7 separate regions of the Homo sapiens genome follow, and regions 2, 3, 4, 5, 6 and 7 are each linked to region 1. Evidence: promoter capture Hi-C in 16 types of primary human blood cells and fetal thymus (Javierre and others, 2016). All regions are on one chromosome and are shown on one strand. Each heading gives the region's core, a stretch centred on a gene start or on the middle of the fragment in contact. The rest is flanking DNA. Distances are from core to core; before and after follow the strand shown. Region 1 holds the start of PVT1 (Pvt1 oncogene). Region 2 overlaps LOC105375751 (a long non-coding RNA gene). Region 3 has its middle 110 kb from the start of LINC00824. Region 4 has its middle 94 kb from the start of LINC00824. Region 5 has its middle 78 kb from the start of LINC00824. Region 6 has its middle 23 kb from the start of CASC19. Region 7 has its middle 160 kb from the start of MIR1208.

Region 1 (3,957 bases), core at 588-3,087:
AAAATGATTAAGCAGTGAAAGGATTAAGGTCTCACAGCTCCTATCGCATGATGTATAGATGCAGAGGTTTCTCATCATCTTCTTTTTATATTTTAAAAGATGGATGACAACTAGATGCCAACTGCAGCTCAGGCACCTGCCCAGTCCCTCTCAGAGCCGGGCACAAAACAGACACCTGTCTAGCCCCTCACAGAGAGCCAGGCACAAAACAGACACCTGTCCAGCCCCTCACAGAGAGCCAGGCACAAAGCGGAGACTTGTCCAGCTCCTGGCAAGGAGCCAGGCACAAAAGAGATGCCCATGAGTGTAAATGAATCTGTGAAACAGGCAGAACAGGAGCATCAACTGAGTAATTGTTTTTTCTTTTTCAAATAAGAACATTTGCGTTGAGAAGCCGCCACGGGAAGAGATGTGATGAAACACTACACAGAAAGAGGGAGGAGCCTCCGGGTAGGTTGGAGTGAGTAGGATGTAGGGTAGCCGGCAGGGGAGAAGAGGGGCAACCTTCTGTTCCGTAATATTGATACCACCCATTTGTGTGTCCAATTTTTGCTGGTTTGTGACGTCCTTCTAGGGTCCATGAGTAACCCCCACCCCATTGCCTAGCTGGGTGCCTGACTCCCCTTAAGTGCTCAGTAGACGTTGAACTGGACGGGCGCTGGCGTGGTGGCTCACGCCTGTAATCCCAGCAATTTGGGAGGCCGAAGCGAGTGGATCATCTCAGGTTCGGAGTTCGAGACCAGCCTGGCCAACATGGTGAAACCTTGTCTCTGCTAAAATTACAAAAATTAGCTGGGCGTGGTGGCGCGCGCCTGTGATCCCAGCTACTCCGGAGGCTGAGGCAGGAGAATCGCTTGAACCAGGCAGGCGGAGGTTGCAGTGAGCCATGATCGGGCCACTGCACTCCAGCCTGGGTGACAGAGTGAAACTTCATCTCTAAATAAATAAATAAATAAATAAATAAATAAATAAATAAAATAAACTTTGAACTGAACAGGGGCAGCTCTTACATCTGTCCAGTCTCGGGTTTATGCAGATAGAACAAGATAACCACATCCCACATGGGAGGCCAGTGTCCACTTGCTCCTTTGGAGGAACTACTGGGCATTTAAGGGACTCGTTGAACACACTCTGTAGGTCAACTCTGCCCGGAGTGGAGGGAGCTGCGCAGACCGCTGGCCCTCTGCACGGGTTTGCAACTCGGCTTCTGGAAACAGCGGGAGACGTCGAAGGAGGCGAGAAGGTGCGCGCGCCCTTCTCACCAGGCCGGCGGATGCTGGGTGGTACCCAAAGAGGCGCTCAGATCACTGGAGCTGGAGCTCAGTCGGCGGTCTTCTGCGGGAACTGCACCTATCCCGGAGCATCTCTGGCCCTCCTATTTCACTGAACTCGCCTTCCTCAGCAGGAAAGTGGGAAGACCGCTTGCTTCCAGGACGGTGTGGGGAAGGGTAAGAGGGCTCAGGGAAAGACCGTGGAAAGCTCGGCGCACAAGCGAGCTGGCATCACCGGGGATTCCCTCCGGCCCGGTGGGACTCCGGCGCGCTTGTAGCGAGGACCCCCAGCCCAGGGCAGAGCCTACCCTCCGCTCCCCCAGTCTGGGCCCTTGGCGGCCGCAGTCGCCCAAGCCCGCCCCGCCTCCGCGCGCGGCCCTCTCCGGCTCAGTGCCCTGCGCTGCCGGGAAGCAGGCTGAGGGGCGCACCGGGCGGCGGGCGGGGACCTGGGGAAGGCCGGGAGCGCCGGGACCGAGGACGCACGCGGCGGGCCGGGCCGCGCGCGCCTCCCCCCTCCCCCGAGGCCCGAGCGCGAGCCGCCGTGACGTCACGGGCAACCCGCCAGCCCCGCGCTCCTCCGGGCAGAGCGCGTGTGGCGGCCGAGCACATGGGCCCGCGGGCCGGGCGGGCTCGGGGCGGCCGGGACGAGGAGGGGCGACGACGAGCTGCGAGCAAAGATGTGCCCCGGGACCCCCGGCACCTTCCAGTGGATTTCCTTGCGGAAAGGATGTTGGCGGTCCCTGTGACCTGTGGAGACACGGCCAGATCTGCCCTCCAGTAAGTTCCAATTTTGTCCCCTGCGTTTCTGGAAACTCTCGAGACTTGGCCCTGAGTAGGGATGCGCTGTGAGTAGTCGGACGGAGGAAAGGGGCTTTCGGAATCCAATATGTGTGTGCTAGGCGTGCACTGTCCTCATCACCAGCCTCAAGACTGGTGGCGAGTTTGGGCGTTTGGGGAGGGTGAGGGGAGGGGGATGACACCGAATGGCCGGTGCATAGAGGCAATTCTGGATTTATGAACTTGATCAAAGGCATATTAACTAATTTCTAAAAATAGACCCCTCTGCAGTCAGAACAGATTTGGAGCCATGATGTGGTTTGGAGGCCCCTCTGGCGAAACTAGAGGTCTGTGAATGTGTGATCCTCCCTCCATCCTTTGACCATCACTCCCCGCTTCCTCTCACACCCCCTCAGGGCTGGGCGAAGGTGATTTCCAAAAACTCAGTAACTCCGTGTTTTGAGACTTTCTCAGTTTTTGCATCGCATGTGAGGGTTTGTTGGGTGCTCCTAAACCCTCATCATGGTCATTCTTCTTGGCTGGGCTGTTGATTTAATTAGGTTTGCCTTCTCTTGCTAACGTGCTCTTATTTATGCCAGTGTTTGTGGTTCTGGGTGTAGACTTTCAGGAAGCACAGCCATGAAGCTGCATGCGTCTGTGTGTGGATGCCTCATGCCTTTTCCTGGTGGTTTGCAGGCATGGAAGATTCTTCTGTTCATCTAAGCTCCTGACTTTAGGCCCTTCTAGAACATTAGAGAGGAGAAGAAATCACGTGCAAGGATTTAGGGACAAGAGGATGAGGTTTTGGTGTTTCCTTTCTGGTATTAGGTTTTCCAGAGAGAGGCTGTTAGCCTGTCTCTCGCCCACTCCACCACTGTGAATCCTGGCTACTGGGGCTAGTTCCTTGCTAGGAAAAAAAAACTCTAGAGAAATGTGTTTGTGTGTGGTGGGTGGGCGGGGGCCCTGAGGATGCAGGGACTGTGTCTGCTGTGTTGTCTGTTATAAGATGTTTCAGACCTATTTTGCATACTGGCAGCGACAAGTTGAGACTTGTTCAACTTGACACAGTCCTGTGGTCATAGCGAATCTTTCTAAAGCTCTGATCAGTCAAGAAGGGGGTTGTATCAATCCTCAGAACCCTGAGTGGAACTTTCTACAGGATTTATTAGGAGAAAAACCTTCCCGGAAGCTGCAGAAGGACAAATACAGAATCCGTGTCTGGGAGAAACCTCGTGGCCTGGTCTCCATTATTTGAGATGAGTTACATCTTGGAGGTGAGGACGTGCCTCGTGGTCTAAAGCTTCGGCACAAGGGCCCAACTGGAATTCCACTTACGGGTATGACTGTGGGGTATATGCTGTACCCATTGAATTCCCAGAGGGATTTGTTAAGTGGTTGTGTTGCTGTTTTGCCTGGTTAAGAGTGGCTTATTCTTGTTGCCTCATCTATCTTGAGTGCAGAATTTTTGCATAAACGGCTTCTCTTGAAAAATAGAAGTCCGTTTTTGTTTTGTTTTGTTTTTTTTCTGATTAACTTTCCTTTTCCTCTGTCTTAAACACCTTCCCCCGCCCCTCGCCACCTCCATGCTGTGTTTCTGTGGCTGGAGCTTTTCTGCACTGGAAAGGAGGAGTTCTCCCCTCTGTTCTGACATATCTGATCCCCACTAGTTTATATGATTGCTGGTCTGAAAACCTGGTGAATTCTCACTGCCCACATCAAATCAATTCCCTGTTCTTTAGTTGTTTTTTTTTTCCGCCTCCTGAGCGGTAGGCAGGCACTCTGGCTGGATTCTGGAGCCTGTGTTTGCCATGCCTGGGCCTTCTGCCTGCCCAAGATGGACACGTTTCTCTGGCAGCTTTGTCAAGAGATCTCCTGGACTATAAGACACCCTGTTCTTTCCTCCTGTTTG
Region 2 (3,957 bases), core at 992-3,491, 960 kb before region 1:
TTCTGCCCACGTTATGGTTGCATCCATCTATACCAGCCCCTATCCACTAGCCACCTGGTCTTTGCTTACATACCTGTAGTGACGGAGAACTCACTACCTTTGAAAGCAATTACCCTTCACTGGACCATTTTGACAGTGAGAATGTTCCTCTTTCTGAAAAACCTAAATGCTAACAGTTGTTGCCTTTGTGTGGTGGAGTGATGAAAGATTTGGGTTCCATCTTTTCTGCATTTTGGTGTTTCCTAATTTTTCTCCAAAAGAATGTTTTGTTTTATTAGAGAAATTGTAATTTTGTTAGATAATTATTGAAAAGCATTTTGTAAGAAATAATTTTGTAAATTCTTCCTTGGGAATTTCTCAGACCGTGAGCTGAGAACTCTCTCCATGTAGCTTCTACAGATTGACCCCAGTTTTGTCCAGAGGAAGCAAGAATAAGCTTATACTTTTTTTTTCCTCTTTTAGCATTTAATGACCTCTGTCCTTTTAGGATGTAGTTGCTTATTTTGCTGCCAGTACTTCCAAAGTGTTTGGCTTACTCAGCATTACTCAAAGTTTATTCTAGCAAATGAGGCTTGCATGTATTTCCATATTTTTAAGATGTGGATCATTCAGTCTCTCCTTCACTGAAGATATTTGATTTATATTTGTTGACTTTACATGCTATTTTCTGCTTTGGCAGTCATGACTATACTAGAATAGGATGTTCTGAGAATTTTGGGAGGCAGGGTACCATATTGCTTAAGAGTATACATTTTGGAGTCAGGGATATGGGTGCAAATCCAGGCTCTATTAGCTTTGTTGTTTTCAAACAGTTATTTAATATCTCTGGGTTTTGGCTCCCTCATGTATATTATGAGGATAATGATGTTCGACTGACATAATTGGTGTGAGGATTCAACTTGCTAAGATACAAAAGTGCTTAAAATAAAACAGATAAGAAGGGAACAGTAGACATCAGGGCCTACTTGAGGATGGAGGATCAGAGGAGGGTGAGGATCCAAAACCCACCTATCAGGTACTATGCTTATTACCTGAGTGACAACATAATATGTACACCAAACTCCTGTAACACACAGTTTATCTATAGAACCAGCCTGCATATGTACAACCAAAACTAAAATAAAAACTAAAGGGAAAATAGAACATGTGCCACAATTGGGTTTTACTTATTCGACAGAATTCCATTTATTTACATATTTATTTCTAATTAAGTGAATAAACATTGATTTCACAAATAGATTTTTGAACGCTTTTATTAACCAAGATCTCTGCTTGCTCCCGTCCTCCCAGGCATTAAAGACTATGCTCTTGGTATCTCCTAACTGGTTGGTTAGGTTCTACCTGAGAGCAGACATCCCACTAAGTGTGAGTTTCTTGGTGTAGACATCAGAAAACTTACAACTGGCTTTATCATGGTCCTCATCTGACATCTCTTGATTTTGACAGGAAGACAAGAATCATCCGAGAATCCAGGAATTCAGGCAGGAAATGGGAAAAATTCCAGATGGACATGAGAACAGCCCAAAGGAACTTTCACTAGTTAAGAAAAGGCCCCTGTAATTTTCAGAAGGGAGATCCTTTACATCTTCTGTCAGATTTGCACCATAGTATTTCACTTTCTTTGGTGTAATTGCCAATGGTATTGTGCTTTTAACTTGTTTCCAAATGTTTGCTGTCAGTATAAAGAAATGCAAATGATTTTCTATCTTGATCTTGTGCTCTGTGTGGTTCTAGGATAATTTTTATTTTTGGTAGATTCCTTGGAATATTTTATTTCTTCCTTTCCAATCTGTATGCCTTTTATTTATTTATGTTTCTTTCTTTATTGTGCTTGCTTGAACTTTCATCACTGTGTTGAATAAGAACAGAGAGGGTGGATGTCTTGGCCTTGTTCTTGATATTAGGGGGAAAGCGTTGAGTCTTTTCACCTTTAAGCATGAGGTTGCGTAGGCGTGTTGCAGATGTTCTTTCTCAAGGTGAGGTCATTTTCCTGTATGTCCTTGCTGCTTTTCTATCCAGTCATTCTGTCATTTGCCATGAGTTGGATGTCAGAGTCCCTAAGTATCATTTTGGAATTGTTTGTTTCTCCTTTCAACTCTATCAGTTTTTGCTTCATTTATTTTGAAGCTCTGTCGTTTGGCGCATATGTGTATGTATGTATACATATATATATTTTATATTTAGGATTGCTACTTTTTCCCTGGCAAATTGAGCCTTTTTTCATCATGTATTGTCTCAGTTGTATCTTTCTTCATTTTCTTTTTTTACTATATAACCCATTTTTTTTCCACTTTACTCTGATAAACCTGTTTTCATTTAAGATGTTATTAACATCAGTGTGATATATGTCTATTCAATTTGATTTGAAAAAATGCTTTGGCTTACAAGAGCCACAAACTTAATGGAAATCAACTTAACAAAAGGCAGAGTTAAAAGATTTACATATCTGGGAAGTTTAAGAAGGTAGCTCTAGTTTTGAACATAGCTGGATTCAAAGACAAAAAATTCATTTAGTCTCTTTCTTTCTCTCTCCCTCTTTCCTCCTGCTTTTCTGTGTTAGCTTATTCTCACTTAAATCTTCTCCATACACTGTCCAAGATTATAACACATGCTGTTAGCAGTTTCAGATAAACCAGATGGTTGTTTTTGTCAATGGCTTCAGGATTTTTCTGGCCTGTGTCATGTCCTCATGTCTAAACCAATCCCTATGGCCAGGGAAATGGGACACTGTGACCAGTTTGAGTCATGGTCCCAACCCTGTGTCATCACAGGCTGGACCATATAAGTGACCAACTCAAAAAGAACATGGTGGTGGTTGGTGGGGTGGGGATGAATTTCTAAAAGGGAAATATTATGAGAGATAGAAGTACCCCAAATCTTCTAAAACATCCTGAAGTCAAAAATTATACCACCCAATATGCAGCTCTTTATTGTATGCCTCAAGTAAAAATGATTTGAGTATTCAATGAGGCAATAGTAATGAAAAGCCAGTTTGTTTCAAAGCCCTGGTTATGTCACTTTCCTGGAAATATTTGCAAAGAAATAGGAACCGTCTTCTATATTAACTTCCTCAGCTACCTATTATTTTCTCTTGTTCATTGTCAAGCAAAAATAAATAAAAGCAAAAACCTTTGCCACATGAGTTCAGGAGGGAGGTAGGATAGGAATTTGTATTAGTCCATTCTCATATTGCTATGAATAAATACCCAAGACTGGGTAATTTGAAAGGAAAGAGGTTTAATGGGCTCACCGTTCCTCATGGCTGGGGAGGCCTCACAATCATGGCGGAAAGTGAAGAGCAAGCAAAGGCACATCTTACATGGTGGCAGCCAAGAAGAGTGTGTGTAGGGGAACTCCCCTTTATAAAAACCATCAGATCTCATGAGACTTATTCACTATCATGAGAACAGCACAGGAATATCTTGCTCCCATGATTCAGTTACCTCCTACCGGGTCCCTTCCACGACACGTGGGGATTACAGGAGCTGCAATTCAAGATGAGATTTCAGTGGGGACACAGCCAAACCATATCAAGAGGCAAAGGAAAAGACTGGAATGATTGGTTGTCTGAGACACTTAAAATCCTGGGAGGTTGTTCCACACATCAGGAGTAACACAGACACTGACATTCACAGGCAGGAAGCATATGGCAAGAATGAGTAAAATCGGAATGGAAGGTTGTTGAGAGGAAAAATGAAAGAAGGTTGAAGAAATTTCAGGAAAGGAGAAAAGTACCAATTAGCCTATGTTTAAGGAGCCGTGAAGGACCGCACAAGTTTATATGCAAAAACACAGTAAGGAGACCGCTCTGCACCTCATTATCTTTACCCTCCCTTTTCTTACTGCTGCTCTCTGGCCTCCAGTTCTCAGCCTCCCAGTCCCAGCACAGCCTGATCCGTCCCATCTTCAGTGGGCACCCACCTCCATTGCAGCACATGCTCTGTTGTACTGTAATTA
Region 3 (3,957 bases), core at 1,016-3,515, 880 kb after region 1:
TGCTTTTGTTGCAATTGCTTTTGGGGACTTAGTCAAAAATTATTTGCCAAGATTGATGTCAAGGACGGTATTTCATACATTTTATTCTAGAATTTTTAGAGTTTGAGGTCTTACATTTAAATCTTTAATCTGTCTGGGGTTAATTTTTGTATATGGTGAAAGGTAAAGGTCCAATTTCATTCTTCTGCATATGCTAGTCAGTTACTTCAGCATCCTTTATTGAACACGAAGTCCTTACCCCATTGCTTGCTTTTGTTGGTCTTCTTTAGGATGAGGTGGCTGTAGGTGTGCAGCATTATTTCTGAGTTGTCTATTCTGTTCTGTTGGTCTATGTGTCTGTTTTTGTGCCAGTACCATACTGTTTTGGTTAATGTACTCTTATATTCTAGTTTGAATTCAGGTAGTGTGATGCTTCCAGCTTCATTCTTTTTGCTTAGGATTGCCTTGGCTATTCAGGCTCTTTTTTGCTTGCATGTGAATTTTAGAATAATTTTCTGTAATTCTGTGAAGAATGACGTTGGTCCCCCTTGAGAACTGGAAGAGGACAAGGACGCCCACTCTCACCACTCCTATTCAATGTAGTACTGGAGGTCCTAGCCAGAGCAATCAGGCAAGTGAATGAAATAAAAGGCATCCAAATAGAAAAAAAAAAGGAATCAAACTATCTTACTTCACTGATGTTATGATTCTATATCTAGAAAATCCTGAAGACTCTTCCAAAGACTACTAGAACTGATAAACAATTTTAAGATGGTTTCGGGCTACAAAATCAATGTGCAAAAATTAGTAGCATTTCTATATACCAATAATGTCCAGGCTGAAAGTCAAATCAAGAAGACAGCCCCATTTACAATAGCCACAAGGAGAATAAAATACCTAAGAATTCATCTAACTGAGGAGGTGAAAGATCTCTGCAATGACAACTACAAAACACTGTTAAAAGAAATCAGAGATGACACAAATAATCATGAATTGGAAAAATCAATACCATTAAAATGACCATCCTACCCAATAATTTACATATATTTTTTCATTTTGACTGGTTGGTTTTTTTTCTATTCTACACGCAGATATCAACTGAAAGGTTAAGCCCTTCTTATCAACTTTTCTTGGATGAGGGTGGTGTCATTTCTAAGGAATACAAATGATGCAAATATATTGTTATTTAAAAATTATTTTTCATGGAACAGTAGATTATTTATGAGAGATTGTGGGGAACAGTTTTGACTCACTAGCATTGGAAATTATGATGCCAATTGAGTGCCTATGCAGTGAGCATAAAATGTTAGAGTTCAATGGAACTGCCAAAATTATATAATCTAAAACTCTCATTACAGGGAGGAAAAAAACTCATATTCAGAGAGGCAAAATGGAAAAAGAGAACAAACATTTATGAAGCATCTTGGCCCTTTCTTGCTCTCTACAACTAGCTGTGGTTTCTTCATCTTTTAATTTCTTAATGGAACTTGTTCATTTCTCTTTTTTAGTGCTCATCTCTCTATGTATAGATGGATGATCCTCTACACAGACGCAATAGAAAATCTTCATGTTTAAAGATTTTCCCATTAAAACCCTAGAGTCAGCATTGACTAGCATTGCTTATGGGGAGTCATACAGCAGCTGGATATTTCAAAGGATAAGATTCATTCTTGTGATACCATGTTTGTATCAATCTTTCCTTTTAGGTTGAAAGCTTCCTAGAGTTAGCCACAGTTCTTGCTGCTCTACATTGCCAGATTTAATCCTCACCTCAATTCTATAAATTTGATAACACTGATAAATGTCATAATGCAACATTTGACTAGAAATTTCAATTTTCTTATAAAAATCAGGAACATAGAAACAGACCCTCCCACTTTGGTGACATAGGCTTTTGGGAGGACAATTTAGAATGCATCCATTTCATTTAAAGAGGTCATTGCCATCTGAAGTTTATGCATTGCACAAATTTGGGGGAAAAAATCAGACAAAGAAATATTCAAAATAAGAAACAATTATTGGACATACCTTTATATAGTCACAGTGGAAAATCTCTTATACTTTAATGACTGAATTTTGCACAATGTGAACAAAACTAAGAATCTTTTATATTTGTTCAGCATTGATTAGTCTAATATAAACATGCATAAAGCATATAGTGTTGAGTTGTCAAAGGGCAATGAATAAAGTTTGGTACATAGTTTGCAAAGATGACCTCAACAGTTTTTCACATCCCAGAACACATGTTCCTTTGCAGTGTGACCATTCCTTCCATCAAGTTGTGGCACATATTTCTCGTTCCCTGGAATCTGGGCTGGCCTTACACTTCGCTTTGACTAAGTGAATGTTTCAGATGAGACACTGTATAACTTGCAAACCTAAATTCCAAGAGGTTTGTAGCTTTTGCTCTTGTCCATTGGGAATGCTTCCATCATCCTGCAAAGAAACCTGATCTAGCTGCCCTGAGGAGAGGCTATGAGGAGCAGTGATAAATCATCCCAGCTGAGGGCCCCTGGACCAATTAATCCATAGCCAGCCTCATTCACCAAAAACGTGAGTGAGGCAATCTTGGATTATCTAGTCTTTGATGAGCTACCAGGTACCTAAGTGATTTCAACCAAGACCAACAAATGAACTACCCAACTAAGACCAACTCAATTTGTTGGGCCACAGGATCATAAGCAATTGATTGTTATATTAAAAGTGACAGTTTTAAAGTTTTTTAATACAGTAATAAAGAACTGATATACCTAGCTCCTTCCAAGTAAGGTCTTTGGCTTAATTCAACAAACATTTATTAGTTCTTATGGCCACAACTATACCCTAGTCAGGTGGATATTGGTCATTAACACTAGAAATAAGCTTTAGTTGTGCCTGAATATTATGTATCTGTTACATATTTAAATTAATTATTAGTCCAGGATTACAAAAATGGATACACTGGGATGATTTGGAACAATGGATAATTTTCTCCTTTCATTGAATTTCTGCTTATTTTGTCATCCATAATTATCTTTAATAACCAGGTTATACTTCTTCTATGAAAGAAAGATCTTTTTTTGTTTTAAAGTTAATATTGTAACTATATAAAAAGTTGATATTAGAAACTACTCTAAAATAGAATTTAGAATTAAGTTTTTGCCTTTTTTCCTTTGCTTTTCTGACCAATATTAATCAGCCCCTTATATAATTATGTTTCAATATGTCACATTCTCTTCAAATGTGCCAGCTTTTCCTGTTCGTGTCCTAGTCTATAACTGATGCAATTTGAGGGCAGTTGAAAAGCTATCCTTTCTTATAAAATTTCCAACATTGGTATCTACATGTGGGAAATGTTAGGAAACTTACAATCATGGGGTAAGGAAAAGGGGAAGTAAGAAGCTTCTTCACATGGCAGCAGGAGAGAGAGAGAGAATGAGTGGGGAAGTGCCACTTTCAAACCATCAGATCTTGTGAGAACTCACTCACTATCATAAGAACTGCATATCATAAGAACTCTCCCCTGACACATGGAGATTACAACTTGACATGAGATTTGCGTGAGGACGCAGAGCCAAACAATATTATAGCTCTTTCTATTTACTTCCTGTATAAAACAGACTATAAACTGTCTTGAATGCAAAGTATCTAGAATAATTTTCAAAACATACTCAGCAAAAGGAAATGTAAAAATATTTGCTGACTTAAATTGAATTGAAAACTCAAATTACCCAAGAGAGTATTTTCTTCATGTTTTTTAAACTGAGCTTGTTTCCTATGTGTCTCTCTGTAAGGGCCTCTGACTGTATTTTCAATAACAACAATAAGAGAGTATGGCTGTGAAGATAGCATTTTCCATCTCTCCCTCAAAATCAGAATTTGAAGGCCATTTGCAAAAGAGGCCATTGTTTGCTGACAGTGGCAAAAGGTGCTGTCTCTGAACCTATGGGACTGACTCATTCCTGCTACAGATCTTTGGACCATCATACCCACTCGATG
Region 4 (3,957 bases), core at 1,092-3,591, 860 kb after region 1:
ACACGGTTGTGATGACCCTAAGAGGTAAGAATAAGAGGATGGCTGGGCTAGGAAAGGCTTTGTGGACTGTGAGCTGTGGCACAGGAATGGGCCAAGACAGGGAGTTTCTGTCTCAGTGTTCTAAGCATCTCTCTGGCCATGACATCCCAGGATGCAATTGGCCAGCACTATACTCTGAGTTCTTCTCCAGGCTTAAATCCTCAAATGCCTCCAGTTACTGACAGGTGTCACAAATTTGTGAGCCATGACAGGTGTAAGACAAAGGGAGCAAGTTGCTCAGATTGATAGCAGTTGGCCTTACTTAGCTACATTCTCTTTCAAATACCTTGGTTCCCAAAGAAAACAGAAAAACACAAAAGGGACCCATAGGCCTCCCATCGGTGATCTCTTGCAAGGCATTCTCTCTCCCTATAGTCCCGTCTCTAAAGCCATGCCTTCCTATATCTCTGCCAAACAAATCTATGTGATCATGACTGCCACATAGGGAAATGCAAGGGAATAGGCTTTGGAGTATGGCAGGCCTGGATTCAGAGCACTTATAAACCATATAACATTATTCAATGTCTCTGAGTTTGGTTTTCTTCATATTAACTCCCACTTTGAAGAGTTGCTGAGGTTTACTAAAATATACATGATATGATAGACAAGATATCTCACTTGCACATAGTAAGAAGTCAATAAACAAATAATAGCTCTCATAACAGTTACTTCCAATTCTATTATTTCTACTTCAGTGGAAGGAACAGGTAGTGTGATTGAGACTTTGGATACTAATGGGGAACATTATGTAGCCTCTGGGTTAGACTATACATGTTGCACTCACCAATTGTCTGGACCATCAACACATTCAAGGGTACAAGATGCACAGTGTTTGTATCCTGTCTGGCAGCACAATACTCCCCAGACTCCATAATGATCTGGAAATGCCACCATTCATATCTGCCCTCCTGACACCAAGATATGCAATCATTTCTTTGATTAGAGACGCTGGCCTCTGTAAGGCCCCTCTGAAATCACATAGACTTGACATTTTTAGTACTCACCCTTACATTAGAACAAAAGAATTTGGCTGATATCCAGGATGAGCTGATTTTGCTGAAAGTGGAGGTGGGGAAGGAGAAAGGGGAAGACCCCAGTAAGGTGTAAATGACAAAGAGAGGATGTGGTCACTGAATTTCAGGGGCAGTTTTCACCAAGAAGAGCATGACAGAGGAGTGCAGGTGATCCTTCCTGTGGAAACAAGGTAGTTCTCTGTGGTGAGTCACCTATCTGGGGTTCCCCCAAATCATAAATGGAGCCCGTGAGCCCTTGAACACAGAGACTGTATGCAACTAGGAGCCCTGAGACCTGTATCTTGGCCTTGCTGCTGCCACTTGCTCATTTGCTGTGAGATCTCATGCCAGATAGTCCCTCTTGGAGCCCATTCGCCCATTTGTCCATTAGAATGAGTATGTGTGTTTGGGAAGGAGTTATTTACATCTATGATTCTTTCCTAATGTGATTCTGCACTGATAGAAGAGGAACTTAAAGTGAGACTGAGAGAGGTAGCAGTAAGGCGTCTAGCAAAGACTTAATAAATCTTAGTTATTGGTATCTTGATCACCATTGTAGTTGCTGTCCCTATCATCATGATTGTCTTCTTTAATCATTACAAGGAAGTAGACAAAAAACAGTAAACAATCAGTTAGTCAACATTGTGCTTGGCAGGAAGAACACAAAGCTGAACAAAACACACTCCCTGTTCCAGAAGCACCTGTAGTCTAGACAGGGAAGCAATTAAGAAAATAAACCACAGCACTAGAGCCTACTGTGAATATAGAGTGGGAATTAGAAAGCAAAGGGAAGTCCAAGTGCTGAGCTCAGTACAGGGCAAAAGGGAAGTGAGAGGCTGCCTGCCAGGAGACCCTAGGTGGCCACACCCCTGCTCTGCTTCCTTTAGGCCTTCACCTGGGCCCAGCTGGACCAGGTGGTGGAGGTGGGGAAGGCATGGACCTTTTCCTTCTTCTTACTGATTCCTCCATGTAAATTTACATCTTCTCTTGAGAAATAAGTTTCTAGTGATGCCATTTAAATAAAGGGATTAAGACATATTCTAAGGAAAAAAATCTGTGAGAATTTAGTAAGATTTTAAAATTCCTAAAAATTTCCTAATTTCCGATTTTCATTTTTTGTCTACTTCTTTATAATGATTAAAGAAGACAATGATGATGATGGTAATGACAGTAATTATAATGATGGTGACACTAATACTAATAACTAAAATGTATTAAGTCCTTACTATGTGCCATGAACCTTGCATGCATTTTGTGACACATTAGTCCTATTTTTGTTCTAATTTTACAAATGAAAAAATTGAGACAAAGAATTGGCTAAAATCGCACAGTTTTACAACAGGAGGAACCCTATTTGAACCCAGATATGTTTGATTTCAGAGTCTGAGATCTTCACCGCTCTGCCTGCCCTGTGCAATTTCATGGTCTTACACTTTTGGTTTGGTGTCCTGGCCTTCAAGAGATGCAGAAAAGAGGTAGCTGGAGAGGCAGAGCTCCACTCTAACAAAGAGGCCCCTTACGGAGAAGTTGAGAGTGGCAGCTATGAAAAAGAGAGCAAACAAGCCAAACCTCTGGGATCAGCAAGGGGAAAGTAATGCATTTCTTGAGAGGGGAGCTGTGACTAAGTGGCCCAGGGAAGGAGAATTCATCTGGCTGCTGTTGGACAGAGCGTGCAAGAGTTGCTAATAAAATGAAAGTGATCTAGATAAGTACTTCTCATGCACTGGGCTGGCTCATCCTCCCAGAAGGGCAAAGAGGGAAAAGTAAATTCCTGCTTTGGAATTTGGAACAATTCCTGCTTTGGAACAATTCCTGCTAGTGACTGCAACATACTTTTCAAGGACTCCAATATATATTCAGTGTTTTGTGCCTCCACTTCTCCTTTGGAGGCATCTTCTAACCACATCTACCCTCTATAGAGGTGTAGCCACCTATTCAGGTGGCTATTTAAAAACAAACAAACAAACAAAAAAAAACAGCTAATCACTTTTAGTAGCTGCCAATGTTGAAAATTGCAAAACATCTTTCCCGTCTCACTGATTTTGCAGCTGTAGGTGAGTTTGCATTGTAGACTCAATGTGGAAGGAGACTCCTTTTAGCTCAGCTCAAGTAAAAAAGTAGCCTTGTAATCTCCTTCCCGCTGTCTGGTCCTGTGCTACATCTTCTCTCAGTACATTGCACAAGAAACATCATCATGGCCTCCATTTTATGATATCTCCCCTGAAAATTTGCTTAATAAGTTTCCCGCCAGAAAATGAGGGTTATGTAGAACTTAAAGGTGATTGAAACAGAAAGTTTAGGGCTCTTTAGAGGCCGTGTGTGTGTGTGTGTGTGTGTGTGTGTGTGTGTGTGTGTGTGTGTGTGTGTGTGTGTGTTAAGGCTATAGAGCTATATATAGCTGCTGCTTTTAAGTTCCCATCTACAGTGAAACACAGCTTCCGGCTTTCTCTGAAAAAGGGGCTCGAGCTTGCAAACAGGCCCAGTCACTGAGAAATACCTACATCCAGATTAGAATTGGTTGCATTTTTTTAAACCATAGGCAAAACTAATCTTATGTGGGGAAAATGTAATCCTTTCCCCTCTGTTACTTCTCCTGCTTAACCCTCAATCCCCTCCATCCCTGCAGTCATATAAAGGTGTTCCGGAGTGTTACCTATTAGGATGAAAAGAGAATTCGTATCTGGCCTTTAGCTCTTGTTAAGTGGTTTTCTAATGTTGAGCACCCATATTTTCACTGGTTTTAAATAAACACTTACAGAGTGAAGCACACTGGACTTGAAGAAAGAAGAGAGAACATTCACATTCCAGCATCATACTGGAGTTTGGGGATGTTGGTCAAGTTACTTTTGTTTCCACATCTGTACATGTCATGGGAAAATTTAAAAAGATATATAGAAGTGTTAAC
Region 5 (3,957 bases), core at 631-3,130, 850 kb after region 1:
TCAAGGAATATGCTCTATGGCCATTTGAAAATAATGTGTATTTTGCTGATACTGGGTGGAGTGTTCTATAAATGTTAACTAGATCCTGGTGGTAGATGGTGATTTGAGTTCCTGTATATCCTTGCTGATTATTAGTATAGTTGTTCCATCAATTTTTGAGAAATGGATGTTGAAGTTACAAAATATAATTATGGATTTGTCTATTTCTCTTTGGAGTTCTATAAAATTTTTCTTTCTTTATTTTGCAGTTATATATTTTGATGCATACACCTTAAGAAATGCTGTATCTTTTCTGTGGAGTAATCTTTTTGTCATTATATAATATCTCTCCTTATCTCTTATAATTTCCTTTGCTCTAAAATATAATCTATCTGATATTAACTTAGTCACTCCTGTTTTCTTTTGCTTAGTGTTTTCATTATATATTTTTTATTAACTTTCAATTTTCCAACAATGTCATATTTGAAAAGAGTTGTAGATAGCATATAGTTAACCCATGTTTTTAATCCTCTTGGTATTTCTGTCTTTTAATTGGTTGAATTTAATGTAATTATTAATATGTTAGGACTTAAAAGAGTAATTTTTTATTTCATTTTATAACACTTATAATATTTCATTTCATTTTTTATTTACTCTTTGTTATTGTTTTTCACTGCACTGGCTTTTTCCCTTTTTGTGGGTTACTTGAACGTATTTTAAAATTCAATTTTAATTTATCTATTGCATTTTGAGTGTATCTACTTGTATAGCTATTTTTAATTGTTGATCTAGTTGTTATATGTCATAACTCTAGGTAGTTATAACTGTAGATGTTCAATAGGTTAGGCATGTTAAATACATTTTGAATACATGTACACACACACACACACACACACATACACATTACTGGTGTCATCATTTTACCAGTTTGAGTGAAGTATAGAAAATTTACCTCTTTTTACAATCTTTACCTTCCTGTTTATAATTGTCTTAAATATTTTTGCTACATGCATTTAGAACCACATCAAACAGTATTACAACTTTTGCTTCCATCATCAAACATAATTTCAAAATCTCAAGGGAAGAGAAAATTACCCATATTTTTGCTTACTCTGTTTGTCTGTTTGTTTTTCTTTACTGATGTTCTTAGGTTCCTTTTATTGTTTCATTTCTGTTCAGGGAAGTTCATTTACCTAATTTCTTAGGGTAGGTCTCCTAGTGACAAATTCTGATAGTTTTTGTTCATATGAGGATATGTTGATTTTTTCTTCATTATGGAAGTATATTATTACTGCATATAGGATTATAAGTTGGCAGGGTTTTTTCGTTTGTTTGTTTTTTGTTTTGTTATTGTTGTTTTGTTTCTTTTTTAAAGAGATGGTCCTGAACTTATGGTAGTTCAACTTATAACTTTTTAACTTTGCTATGGTACAAAAGAAATACTCATTCAGTAAAAACTGCACTTTCAGTACCCATAGAACCATTCTGTTTTTCACTTTTAGTACTATACTCCATAAATTACAATAGTTATTCAACACAATAAAATAGGCTTTTTGTTAGATAATTTTGCCCAACTATAAGCTAATGTAAGTTTTTGAATATATTTTAGGAAGACTGGGCTAAGCTTCCTGATGTTCAGCAGGTTAGGTGTATTAAATGCATTTTTGGCATATTTTCAAAATATTATGGGTTCATCAGTATGTAAACCCGTCATAAGTCAAGGAATATTTATACTTGAAAATTATTGTCACTTTCTCCTGACCACTATAGTTTCTAATGAGTAATCTGTTATTATTAGAAGTGTTTTTCCCTATAGGTAAGGTGTTTTATTTCACTTCTTTCAAGATTTCTAATTTTAGTTTTTAGAATTTTGACTATTATGTATTTTGATGTGGATTTCTTTAGATTTATTCTGTTTGAAATCCATTCAGTTTCTTGAATCTCTCTATTTATGTATTTTCTCAAATTTGGGAAATTTTTAGCCCCTTTTTTAGCATTTCAAAAAATAGTTCAATGTGTTTCTGAGGCTCTGTTATTTTCTCCAGTCTATTTTCTGGAACAGTGTATGTTTGGAATGGGCAATTTTGTTATCCTATCTTCCAGTTCAATGATTCTTTCCTTTCCCTCCATTCTGATGTTGAGCCATTCATTGAGATTTTTAACTTGGTTATTATATTTTTAAGCTTACCCTTTTTGTTTGTTTCTCCTTAATGTCTTCGATTTCCTGTCAGAGATTTTTTATTTTATTGTTGGGACTTTCTGTTTTTCTGTTTGTTTTAAGCACCTTTGTAATTGCTGGTTAGAACATTTTTCTGATGTCAGCTTTAAATTTTTTTAGATAAGCTAATATCTTTTTCACCTTAGTCTTCACATTAATTAGAGACTTTTTTATTTAGTTTGAGATCTTCCTGGTTTTTGCTGTGACAAATTACTTATTTTTCAAACCTAGGACATCTTCAGTATTATGTTATAAGATTCTGGATATTATGTAAATCTTATATTTTAGCTAAATTATTTTGATAGTACTTTAGCAGGGGAAGAAGAGATGCTGCATCATTATTGTCAGATGAAAGTAGATGTCAAGATTCCTTCTTCGCCTCTGTTGACACCCAAGGGAGGAGGCTGTTTGTTAACACTGGGTATAGTGGAAGTCTTGGCTCCTCACGGGGTCTCCACTGATGTACTCCTACCCCTCTTGGTCTGGGAGATATCAGTGTAGACCTAGTGAGAAGCCAAAACTTCCACTATCTGCAGCATTAACAAAGAGCCTCCTCCCTTGAGTGTCAACAAAGGCTAACAAGGGAATCTGAACATCTACTTTCATCTGGCAATAATGATTCAGGATCTTTTCTTCCCATCAACACCATTTAGGGTTTTAGCCTTGTTACTGTTGGACAGTAGTAAAAGTTCTAAAGAAGATGTGTTCAACATCAACCCGTCTTCTACCATCAACACCACAAGGGTTTTAGCTTTGTTATTCTTGGGCAGTAGTAAAAGTTCTGACTCTCTACTGGGATTCCTCTGGCATAAATCCAGGAAGGAGTGTAGTGGTGCTGCATTATTGTCAGGTGGGAATGGAAGCATAGACTCCCTACACAGCCTTCTCTGAAACCATCACAGTGGGGAGGTTAGAATACCTTGTTAATGCCAGATAAGGGTGAAAGTTGAGTTCCCCATTCAGCCTTTGTTGTCATGTGTAAGGATAAAGCCACAACATATACTGTGGTGTTTGGTGTTTGGCTAGAATAGTAAATTTACTATGTACAATATTTCTGACTTGCTAGATGGCTCCTTTCCTGCTTTTTTCACTCAAGAGAACAGATTTAATTATTTATTTATTATTAATAATAATTATTTAATCTGTGCCCATTGACATTTTTGGGTTGCTGACGTCTTCAGTTCTAATCTGGGAAATGTAAAGCAAAAACAAAATTCAGGAAACTCATCACCATATCATTCCTTGCTCCCTAGCTTGTCTGCCTTGACTCTACCTGTCAGAGTATTCTTATTATGGTTTTATGTATAATACACAGAGTTTTTTGTTTTACTTAGCAGGGAGAATAGGGAAAATTACATCTACTCAATTTTTCCGTAAGTGATTTCACAGCGTATTTATTACAAAGAGGGATATTGATTTTTTTTTCCTCCTTTCTCACTTCCTTTCCCTCCTCCTTTCTTCTCTTTCCTTTCCTTTTTCTATTTACTTTTCTTTCCTTGTCTCTTCCTTCCTTCCTCTCTTCTCTTATCTTCTCATTTTATTCTTTCTCTCCTATTTTTTATCTTCTCTCATTCTATTTTTTCCCTGCTCCAACTTTGTTTTGTATATTTGATCTTCATCTCCATCTCTACTTTATTTCAGTACTCATTTTCTATCAAGCTAACCAAATATCTAATCAGAGATCATGGTCGTCTTCTATTTTCTTCTCCTTCTTCTTTAACTCAGTATGTGCATAATTGACTCATTGCTTGGGGAGCCAC
Region 6 (3,957 bases), core at 830-3,329, 620 kb before region 1:
GCATTTCAAAGGTAGATTTTTGTTTTCCCAGGGAAGTTTTTACTTGGGTGGTCAGGGGGACTGTTAGTCCATGGAGAGTTTCCTGGCTTGAACTGAATGTGGATCCAATTCTTCTAAAGAGGCACTGTGCCTTCCAACATGTTTTATTTCAGTCAGTGCAGGCACAACTGTAGTGCCACATTTTGCTGACCCACCTGAAATGCAAATAGGAAGAGCCTGCTTTGCTTCAGAGGTTGCCTCCCCTCCTACTCTGCAAGAAGCCAATCAATAATAATTTTACTGAAGACACTAGGTTCCAAGGGACTGAATCTGAAGAGATGTCTTGATATAATGAGGAAAAGTAAATGGAGGGTGGAGGAGATGCCATTCAAATTTAAAAGAACATAAACAATGAGTTATCTGTGCTACATATCTGAGAGGCAGCGTGATGGGAAGGAAAGAAAGCGAGCTGAGCACTCCAGACCAAGCCTTACTCCAGAACCTACAGAATGTGGGGCTTTGAAATGGCACTTAAGATTTCTGAGCCTTTTTGATCCAAAAAATATTGTTTCCTATATGCTTCTTAAAACTCAATCAAGAGGTTAATAATATTTGCATAGTCTTTTTTGAAATACTCACATGAATTTGTTAATGTAATCTTCTCATTCATTCTACAGAGTAGAAATTAGTGTCATTCTCATTTTATAGAGGAGGAAAGTGAAGATTTAAAAGTTGCAGGAGCCTACCCCAGCCCTGGTGGTATTGTGGCAACCCAGCCACTCAGCTGTCCTCCTCTCAGAGTTTTCTGCTGTGGAAACCATGCTCCAGGGAGCATTAACTATATAGAAAATAAACTAACACCATAAATAACCAGAGAAACCCCAAATATCTCTAAATGTGGAACTCTCTAGTAAGAAACTGGGATTGCAGGAATGTCTGAATCCTACCCCGTTTCTCAACAACCCCTCTATGAGATATCTGGGAAAATTCATGCTTGAAGATGAAGGAGAAAAGATAAACAAAGGTCTGGAGTTTTCTGAGCTAGATTGATGCCCCAAAGTCTTAGTAAACTGAACATAAATGGCCCAACTAATAGACTAGAGGGGCTCTCCAATTCTCAGTTTTCTTATCAAACCACAGAAGAGTTGCAAAAGTGTAGAAGGACACACACACATGCACGCACACACACACACACACACAGAGAAAACACATACACACACAGAGACACAGAGAGAGAGAGAGAGAGAGACTTCTAGAGGGTCTTTTGTCATAAAGAATGGAAGGAGAGAGCAGAGATGCCCACAGGTAGATAACGTTTCAACAACTGTTGCTCCCATTTAATAGTCAAATTGAGCACTCCACAGGGCAAGGTGAGGGTGAGGCGAGCAAGGCCCTTCAGGTGAAAATTTTACAGAGGCATGGATTCTCAGATTTGTGACACCTGCAGGGTCAGCACCTGCGAGTGGGTGCTTCTGGAAATGTTGCACCCTGTGAGCCTCACTTACATTACCCTAGTCCCAGGTCTGCAGTCAGTATCCTAAAATCAAAACAATTTATCAGTAAATTCTGCTCTTATGGAGGATCTAGGTGAGAAGAGGTGTGGGAACCTGTATCTCCCCACAACCCTAAGCATGGACCTTCCTATTGCCTTGCATCTGCCATTCCTCTAGACTCTCAGTCCTTCTCAAACTATACTGCACCTGGGGATCTTGTTAAATTGTATTCTGATTCAGTAGGTCTTGGATAGGGCCTAAGATTCTAAATTCTAACAAGCTTCCAGGTAATGTTGATTTGTAATGGTCCACTTACCACTCTGAGCAGCAATGCCTAGAAATGATGGTTCTTCAAATCCAAGTGATAACCCATAGTAACTAACTCATTAGCTTAGTTCTGCCGTAAAGTCAGAACAAAGCAAGGAGAAACAGAACCTCTGCAGTGAATGGAGGAATTTCTGAGGGTCACTTGAAAGCAGAAACTCAAGAGCCTGAAAGAATAATAAATACATAAGCTTCTGGATATTTGCAGAAATGTAATAAAGTTGTAAGATTCAGGGGCTTATAATAAGGTTGGCTTAAACCAAGAAAATTATGCTTGTTTCATACTGCTTCCATTCCAAACGGCTTCTTTCCAGATAGATAGACCTGTCCTCCCAAAAAATCTAGTCATCTCATAGAAAGAATCAAATGGCAAATTGAAGCTTTTAGGTACTGTCCTGGATCATTTTGTGTTGTGAGAAAAGAATACCTGAAGCTGAATAATTTATAAAGAAACGAGGTTTCTTTGGTTCACAGTTCTACAAACTATAAGAAGCCTGGTACCAACATCTGCTTCTGATGACACCCTCAGGCTGCTTCCACTCACAGTACAAGGCAAGGAAAGGCTGGTGTGAACTGACCACATGGTGAGAGAGGAAGCAAAAGGGAGGGGGGCAGGTGCCAGGCTCTTTTTAACCACCAGTTCACTTGAAAACTAATGAGTGAGAACTCACTCACTTCTCCTCCCACTCCAGGGAAGGCATTAATCTATTCATGAGGAATCTGCCCCCATGACCTGAACACCTCCCATTAGGCCCCCATCTTCAAAATTAGGATCCAATTTCAACATGAGGTTTAGGGGGACAAACATCCAAACTATAACAGACACCTTTGCACATGCATCAACTCTGCATAATTCCTGATATCTTACGGGTGCAAATAAAGTGACTCAACATTGATTTAGCTACCATTTTCAAAAGTGTCCATAACATTAAGCACAAAAATTTATACCATTACAGAAATAATTTATATTGCATGTATATCTTCTTATTCAAAATTCCTTATTTTCACATGATGTTGTGCTTGGCAACCTAGAAGGACATGCAAAACACACACACACACCACACACACACATATACACATGTACAAACACATGCACATACACACAGCAATACTCACATACACACACACACCCATACACACACACATATACCACACACATACACACACACACCCCACACACAAAAGCATATCTACAGCCACAGGAAATCCTTGACAAATTCATAAGACATTTAAAGTTTTTGAAAACAATTTTATATTGACAAATAGGACAAAAGAGGATTGAGTAGCTGCTACGTAAGAAATATCATGTGAAACATGGTAAATCATGTTAGATCAAAAGTATCATTTACTTCTATATCCCCAATTCCCAGGAAAATGTTTCATATACAGCATGTAGTTCATTTCTATTTTAATGTATATAAATAAATTGTTGAAAAAAAAAACAGAGAAATGGAAATGCCATGGTAATGATTCCATCTTAAAGCAGTATTTTAGCCAGGATTAGGGGAGGAAAGACCAGGAACAATCTCTACCAGTGGGACCTGGAAAGAGCAGATCAGGGAACAAGTTTTCAAGTGAAGCTTGAACATTTAAGGCAAAACTTTAGTCTTGGTGAAATAAAATCTGGGACAGGAAGTGAGAGAAGAGTCCAATTATTTTGGCCAGGCCAGTTTGAAGGGCATCAAGGAAAACCTTCAGAGCAGTCAACATTCCACCATTCAGTGTTGACACCAGATACAGCAGGAACTAGCCATGCGCAGGAAACCATTCTTGATTTGGCCATTGCTGGCTAGGGTTCCATGCAGACAGCTTAACCTTGCCAAATAGACCTGGAGCTGCTAATATTCTCCCTTGTGCTATCTAGGTTTCCTATATATTTTGCCTCCTTGATCCACTAGAACATGGGCTCCATGAGGGCAAGAATGCCTCTTTTATTATACCAGCATCAAGAAAAGTGCCTGGCAATGGAATATTATGCAGCCATAAAAAAGAATGAACTCCTGTAATTTTCAGTAACATGGGTAAGCTTGGGGGACATTATGTTAAGTGAAATAAGCCAGGCATAGAAAGATGAATATTGCACATTCTCACTCATATATGGGAGCTAAAAAAGCTGATCTCATGGAAGTAGAAAGTGGAATGGTGCTTACCAAAGGCTGAT
Region 7 (3,957 bases), core at 895-3,394, 520 kb after region 1:
TATAATTCATGATGTAGGGAACTAGTCTTCTTGACCACTCTGTGCAAACTGCCATTTGCTTACTACCTTCCAACCTTCATCCTCTCATTTCCCATTAATTTGTTCACTTATTCATATTCAGCAGTTACTTTGCCCATGTTGTGTAGCAGGCTAGCTGTATAAAGGACAGGCATGGTGTCCTAATGAAATGTACAGTCTAGTGAGAGGTGTTAAATAGTAAGTAGGCAATTACAATTCAGTATGCTAAAGGCTACAGTGAAGGAAGCAGGTAGTGTTAGAAAGCACAGAAGAGAGGGTACCTGACCTCTCTTAGTTGGTCAGGGAAGGAATGTAGGAAGAGTTGATGTTGAAGCTGGGTCTGGTCAGTAAAAGAGGGAGGTTGCCAGTGGTCTAGCATGAGAAAGCAACATGAATCTAAGGGACAACTCCATCTCTTGGCTCTCCCAGAGCACCAGCAATCAATTCTGCCAAGACTGGCTACTTTCAGCTGTTGAGCCTTTTTCATACTTACTTCCTCTTTTCTTGAGAAGTTGATCATAGATCTCAAATATGAGGCAATATGAATGACAACCACTAGCTAACCTTGGAATTCTTCCTCCCTGGCCTTTTAGTCAAACATGTGTGTCTCATGGAGAGATTCCTAGAGGTTGTGATAAATCCAGCTAGGACTCTCTCTGACAATGCAATTCTGTATCCCTTCTTACCATAAATGGAAATAAGTCTCTCTCTGTTTCTCTCTTTCTCTGTGCCTCTACGGTGAACATGAACACTACACTTGAGACTACGAATCAAAGAGTCAAAATGAGATGTCTAAAATCATATAGCAAGTTGGTAGCAGGGCAAAAAATTTGAGACAGATTTCCTGTATGAGCAACATCTTTGCATGAATAATAAACTTTCAAGCCTCCAAAAATTTGCTCACGCTCTTCTCTCTACCTGGAATGCCTTTTATTTTATTTTTTTTTCCATTCTGCTAGGCTTATCTCAAAGCTTCCTTTAGAGGCTTCTTACAATTCCCCACTCTTCACCTCTGCTTCACTGCCCCAGTCCTGGAGAGAATTGACCACTTGCCACACTGTGCTCCGTAGCCTTGGCTGAGGTCTCTGTTTTAGAGTTCATCTTTTGCTGCTACACTTGTATATGTTAGTGTCTATAAGTTGTGTAAAGACTGGAATTATCTCTTAGTCATCTCTGTATCCTTAGGATGCAATAGGTCTTCAATGAACCTTGCTGAATGATTCAACGAACAAATTCCAGAGATGTCATATCTTATTTGAGTCAAGGTGCCTTTCAGTTTAAAGCCATCTGCAGGGTTTTGTTGAAACCCCAAAGAAGGTCACATCCCTTCCAAATAAACCTTTATCTTGACAATGTTCTTGGAGCTGGAGAGCTGTGTAGACCTGGCTATTGGCCAATATGAAGACGGGAGAAAACTCCTGTGATGGGTGGGCTCAAGATTGCCGTCATGTACATGCACTTGATAAACCAGTATTTTACAGAAGCAAATACAAACCATGGTTACTAGCTCAGATAAATACTGGGAATCCTTCCTCTGTCTTAAACAGGATTTCCTTGGTGAATTTTTTTTGTCTTCTTGGAAACATCACCATGCTCTCTGCTCCCTTCAACTGCAGTTTTCAAATCCAGGGGTCTGAGTCTGGGCCCAAGTGGCTGATTCCAAGTAGAGTGGTTTCAGAGTCTGAGAAGAGATCTTTCCTTAGCTAAGTGTAGCACACCATCTCTCTCTCTCTCTCTCTCTCTCTCTCTCTATCTCTGCCTGTACAGTGAACATGAACACTACACTTGACACTGTAAATCAGAGAGGCAAAATGAGAAGTCTAAAATCGTATAGCAAGTGCAGCAAAGTGTAGTAGAGGCTTTAGAGTCTGAAAGACCTGGGTTCAAAGTCTGGCTCCACTATGACCACTTTGGGAAAGTTACTTTGCTGCTCGAAGCCTCAGTTTCATATCTGCAAAATGGATGTTTTTCTGGAAGAGATTTGGAGAGGATTCAAGGTGACCACAAAAAGGGACAGTAAGCAGAACGAGATGCGTACTTGGTGCTTTGTAATCCCAGGTGAGCTCCCTCTCTTTCCAGGGACATGGGGAAGCCGAGATAGAAAAGAGATGTCAAGATAATCTTTTCTGAGAGTGCCAAAAGCTGCTAAACCAAGAAGCGTTTTGTATGAAAAGCCACTTCTTTTGCACCTATTTTTTGTTTCCTTTTTTGGATAGTGGCAAGGGTCAGTGTCTTCCTCTCTCATAGGCTGTCTCATTTCCCTCCCTGCTCTCAGCTCAGCTGCCTGAAACCACCAATTGTTCTTTTTCTGAATGGAGCTCCCCATGGGGCCCCTTTCCCACCACAGTGGTTGTTTGTGCCCCTCCCCCAATTCTTGCACCTCTGTCTCCCACCCCCGCTGTTGCTCTATTCAGTGACCATTTCCCAAATACCAGGAACTCAAGGTTTGTAACAAGAACAGCAACCTTTTTATTACTTTGGTCCTGGGCTGCGACCCTAAGCAGCACATCCTGTTAGAACAAAATAGGTACTGAAAGCAATAAATATAACACCACACCGAGCACCCCTCCCTGTCACATCCCCCACCCTGCCAAATTCCCCAAGAGGTGTCACAGGGGTGAGATTGAGAGAGGGTGTTCAGAACAGGCGCCTTCTCCTCTCCCCTCCACTTGTTCGCCTATTGAAGAGGATATCTCTCCTGTTTCTTTACATTGGTAACCCTATGTACATAAAACAAAATTGAAAAGGTGCAAAGTGGTGTCCAGTGAAGATCACCCGCCTCTCCTATCCTGCTTCCTTAAATTCGCCACTTGAGAGGCAAACTACTGTTACTGGTTTCTTATGCATCTCTGCAGTATTCTACACATATATGTATGGTTTTATTTTTTCACAGACAAGGTAGCATGATTTTGCAGCTGGCTTTTTGTACTGAGCACTGTATTTTACAACTCACCTCCCAGTCAGTAGATAAAGACTTCTCTCCTTCTAAACTGAGGAAGAGTCCTCATTTACATGCATGAATCAGAGTTGATTCAACAAGTCTTCTGCTGACGGGTGTTTACGTTGTTTGCAAAAATGCAGCTAATAACTTTGTGCATAAGTCATTTCCCCCGATTTAGTTCTAAATCTATTAAGAAAAATATGTAGGTTGGAGGTACTACGAGCTGGCTCAGGAACACAAACACCTGGAATTTCTGGAATGTTCCCCACCAGCTCTGATTGTCCTCCTGGGGAACTCTCACTCTCCTTTGAAGGTGGGCTCATAGGTCACTTCCTGCCTTAAGCTTTCCAGATCAGTCCCAGCCAGAGAAAGTTGCTTTATATCTTTTGGATTTCTAGGTGGTGGCTCCCAAATTGTGGCTGTGTAAAGACCCCCTGGGGGAGCTTACTAAAGCACAGATTGCTGGGCCCCACCCATCCTAGAGTTTATCATTCCAGAGGTCTGCAGTGGTATCTACAATGTGCATTTCTAACCAGTTTCTAGGTGATGCTTCTGCTACAGATCAAGACCACACTTGGAGAACCACTGATAAGCGATTTTTCTACCTCTGTGATCGCTGCTGAGTGCAGCTCTTACTGAAAACCACTTCCATCCTCTCGCCAGGCTGGATTAGCCCCTTCTGAAATACTTACCCGTCTTTCCTCAATAGGCTGAAAGCTCCATGATGGCAGAGACTGGTCAAGTGTTTATTCCATACTTTATCTTCAGGGCTTGATAGAGCCCGAAGAACATAATAGATGCTGAATAAATGTGTTAAATGAATGAATGCACTGAAATTACTGATTTATTGCATTTCTCCTAGCAAGGTTAAATGCCTTAAGTCCAGGGCCTCTAGGTCCTTAAATACCTCCCTTCTCTTAGCTGGCCTATTGCTCTGTAACTAGGGTCCCCAGTTTTACTCTGCCCGCCCTTCAGGCCTACTGTCCCTAAGGCGGACA

Evidence for each region. The method cuts DNA at HindIII sites, captures the fragments that hold promoters and counts their contacts. A CHiCAGO score of 5 or more calls a contact.
Region 2: a contact is called between a fragment that was not itself captured here and the fragment with the promoter of PVT1 in region 1, in 1 of 17 cell types (endothelial precursors). The highest score is 6.8, in endothelial precursors.
Region 3: a fragment that was not itself captured here is called in contact with the fragment with the promoter of PVT1 in region 1 in 4 of 17 cell types (total CD8 T cells, activated CD4 T cells, naive CD8 T cells and 1 more); the score reaches 7.3 in total CD8 T cells.
Region 4: a fragment that was not itself captured here is called in contact with the fragment with the promoter of PVT1 in region 1 in 6 of 17 cell types (non-activated CD4 T cells, total CD4 T cells, total CD8 T cells and 3 more); the score reaches 10.1 in non-activated CD4 T cells.
Region 5: a fragment that was not itself captured here is called in contact with the fragment with the promoter of PVT1 in region 1 in 1 of 17 cell types (total CD4 T cells); the score reaches 5.4 in total CD4 T cells.
Region 6: a contact is called between a fragment that was not itself captured here and the fragment with the promoter of PVT1 in region 1, in 1 of 17 cell types (total B cells). The highest score is 5.3, in total B cells.
Region 7: a contact is called between a fragment that was not itself captured here and the fragment with the promoter of PVT1 in region 1, in 1 of 17 cell types (total B cells). The highest score is 5.5, in total B cells.

Annotation. Positions count from the first base shown.
Region 1 is chr8:127,792,687-127,796,643 of GRCh38, forward strand. PVT1 (Pvt1 oncogene) reads left to right here and starts at 1,838. Exons shown (of 9, transcript NR_190187.1): 1 at 1,838-2,048. MIR1204 (microRNA 1204) reads left to right here and starts at 3,276; the gene lies at 3,276-3,342. RefSeq lists enhancers at 248-818, 1,961-2,530, 2,531-3,102, 2,824-2,873, 2,974-3,313 and silencers at 1,544-1,593, 1,614-1,673, 1,684-1,843. The HindIII fragment of the contact is 6,547 bases long and covers 1-3,346 here.
Region 2 is chr8:126,828,999-126,832,955 of GRCh38, forward strand. The region is part of intron 3 of LOC105375751 (a long non-coding RNA gene); the gene reads left to right. All of the region lies in intron 2 of LOC105375753 (a long non-coding RNA gene), which reads right to left. Among named protein-coding and RNA genes, the nearest start is that of PCAT1, 180 kb to the right of the region's middle. The HindIII fragment of the contact is 3,615 bases long and covers 435-3,957 here.
Region 3 is chr8:128,675,807-128,679,763 of GRCh38, forward strand. No RefSeq gene overlaps it. Among named protein-coding and RNA genes, the nearest start is that of LINC00824, 110 kb to the left of the region's middle. The HindIII fragment of the contact is 1,148 bases long and covers 1,692-2,839 here.
Region 4 is chr8:128,656,363-128,660,319 of GRCh38, forward strand. No RefSeq gene overlaps it. Among named protein-coding and RNA genes, the nearest start is that of LINC00824, 94 kb to the left of the region's middle. The HindIII fragment of the contact is 8,526 bases long and covers 1-3,957 here.
Region 5 is chr8:128,640,260-128,644,216 of GRCh38, forward strand. No RefSeq gene overlaps it. Among named protein-coding and RNA genes, the nearest start is that of LINC00824, 78 kb to the left of the region's middle. The HindIII fragment of the contact is 559 bases long and covers 1,602-2,160 here.
Region 6 is chr8:127,172,402-127,176,358 of GRCh38, forward strand. No RefSeq gene overlaps it. Among named protein-coding and RNA genes, the nearest start is that of CASC19, 23 kb to the right of the region's middle. The HindIII fragment of the contact is 189 bases long and covers 1,986-2,174 here.
Region 7 is chr8:128,311,571-128,315,527 of GRCh38, forward strand. No RefSeq gene overlaps it. Among named protein-coding and RNA genes, the nearest start is that of MIR1208, 160 kb to the left of the region's middle. RefSeq lists enhancers at 1,939-2,622, 2,521-2,680, 3,307-3,957. The HindIII fragment of the contact is 2,312 bases long and covers 989-3,300 here.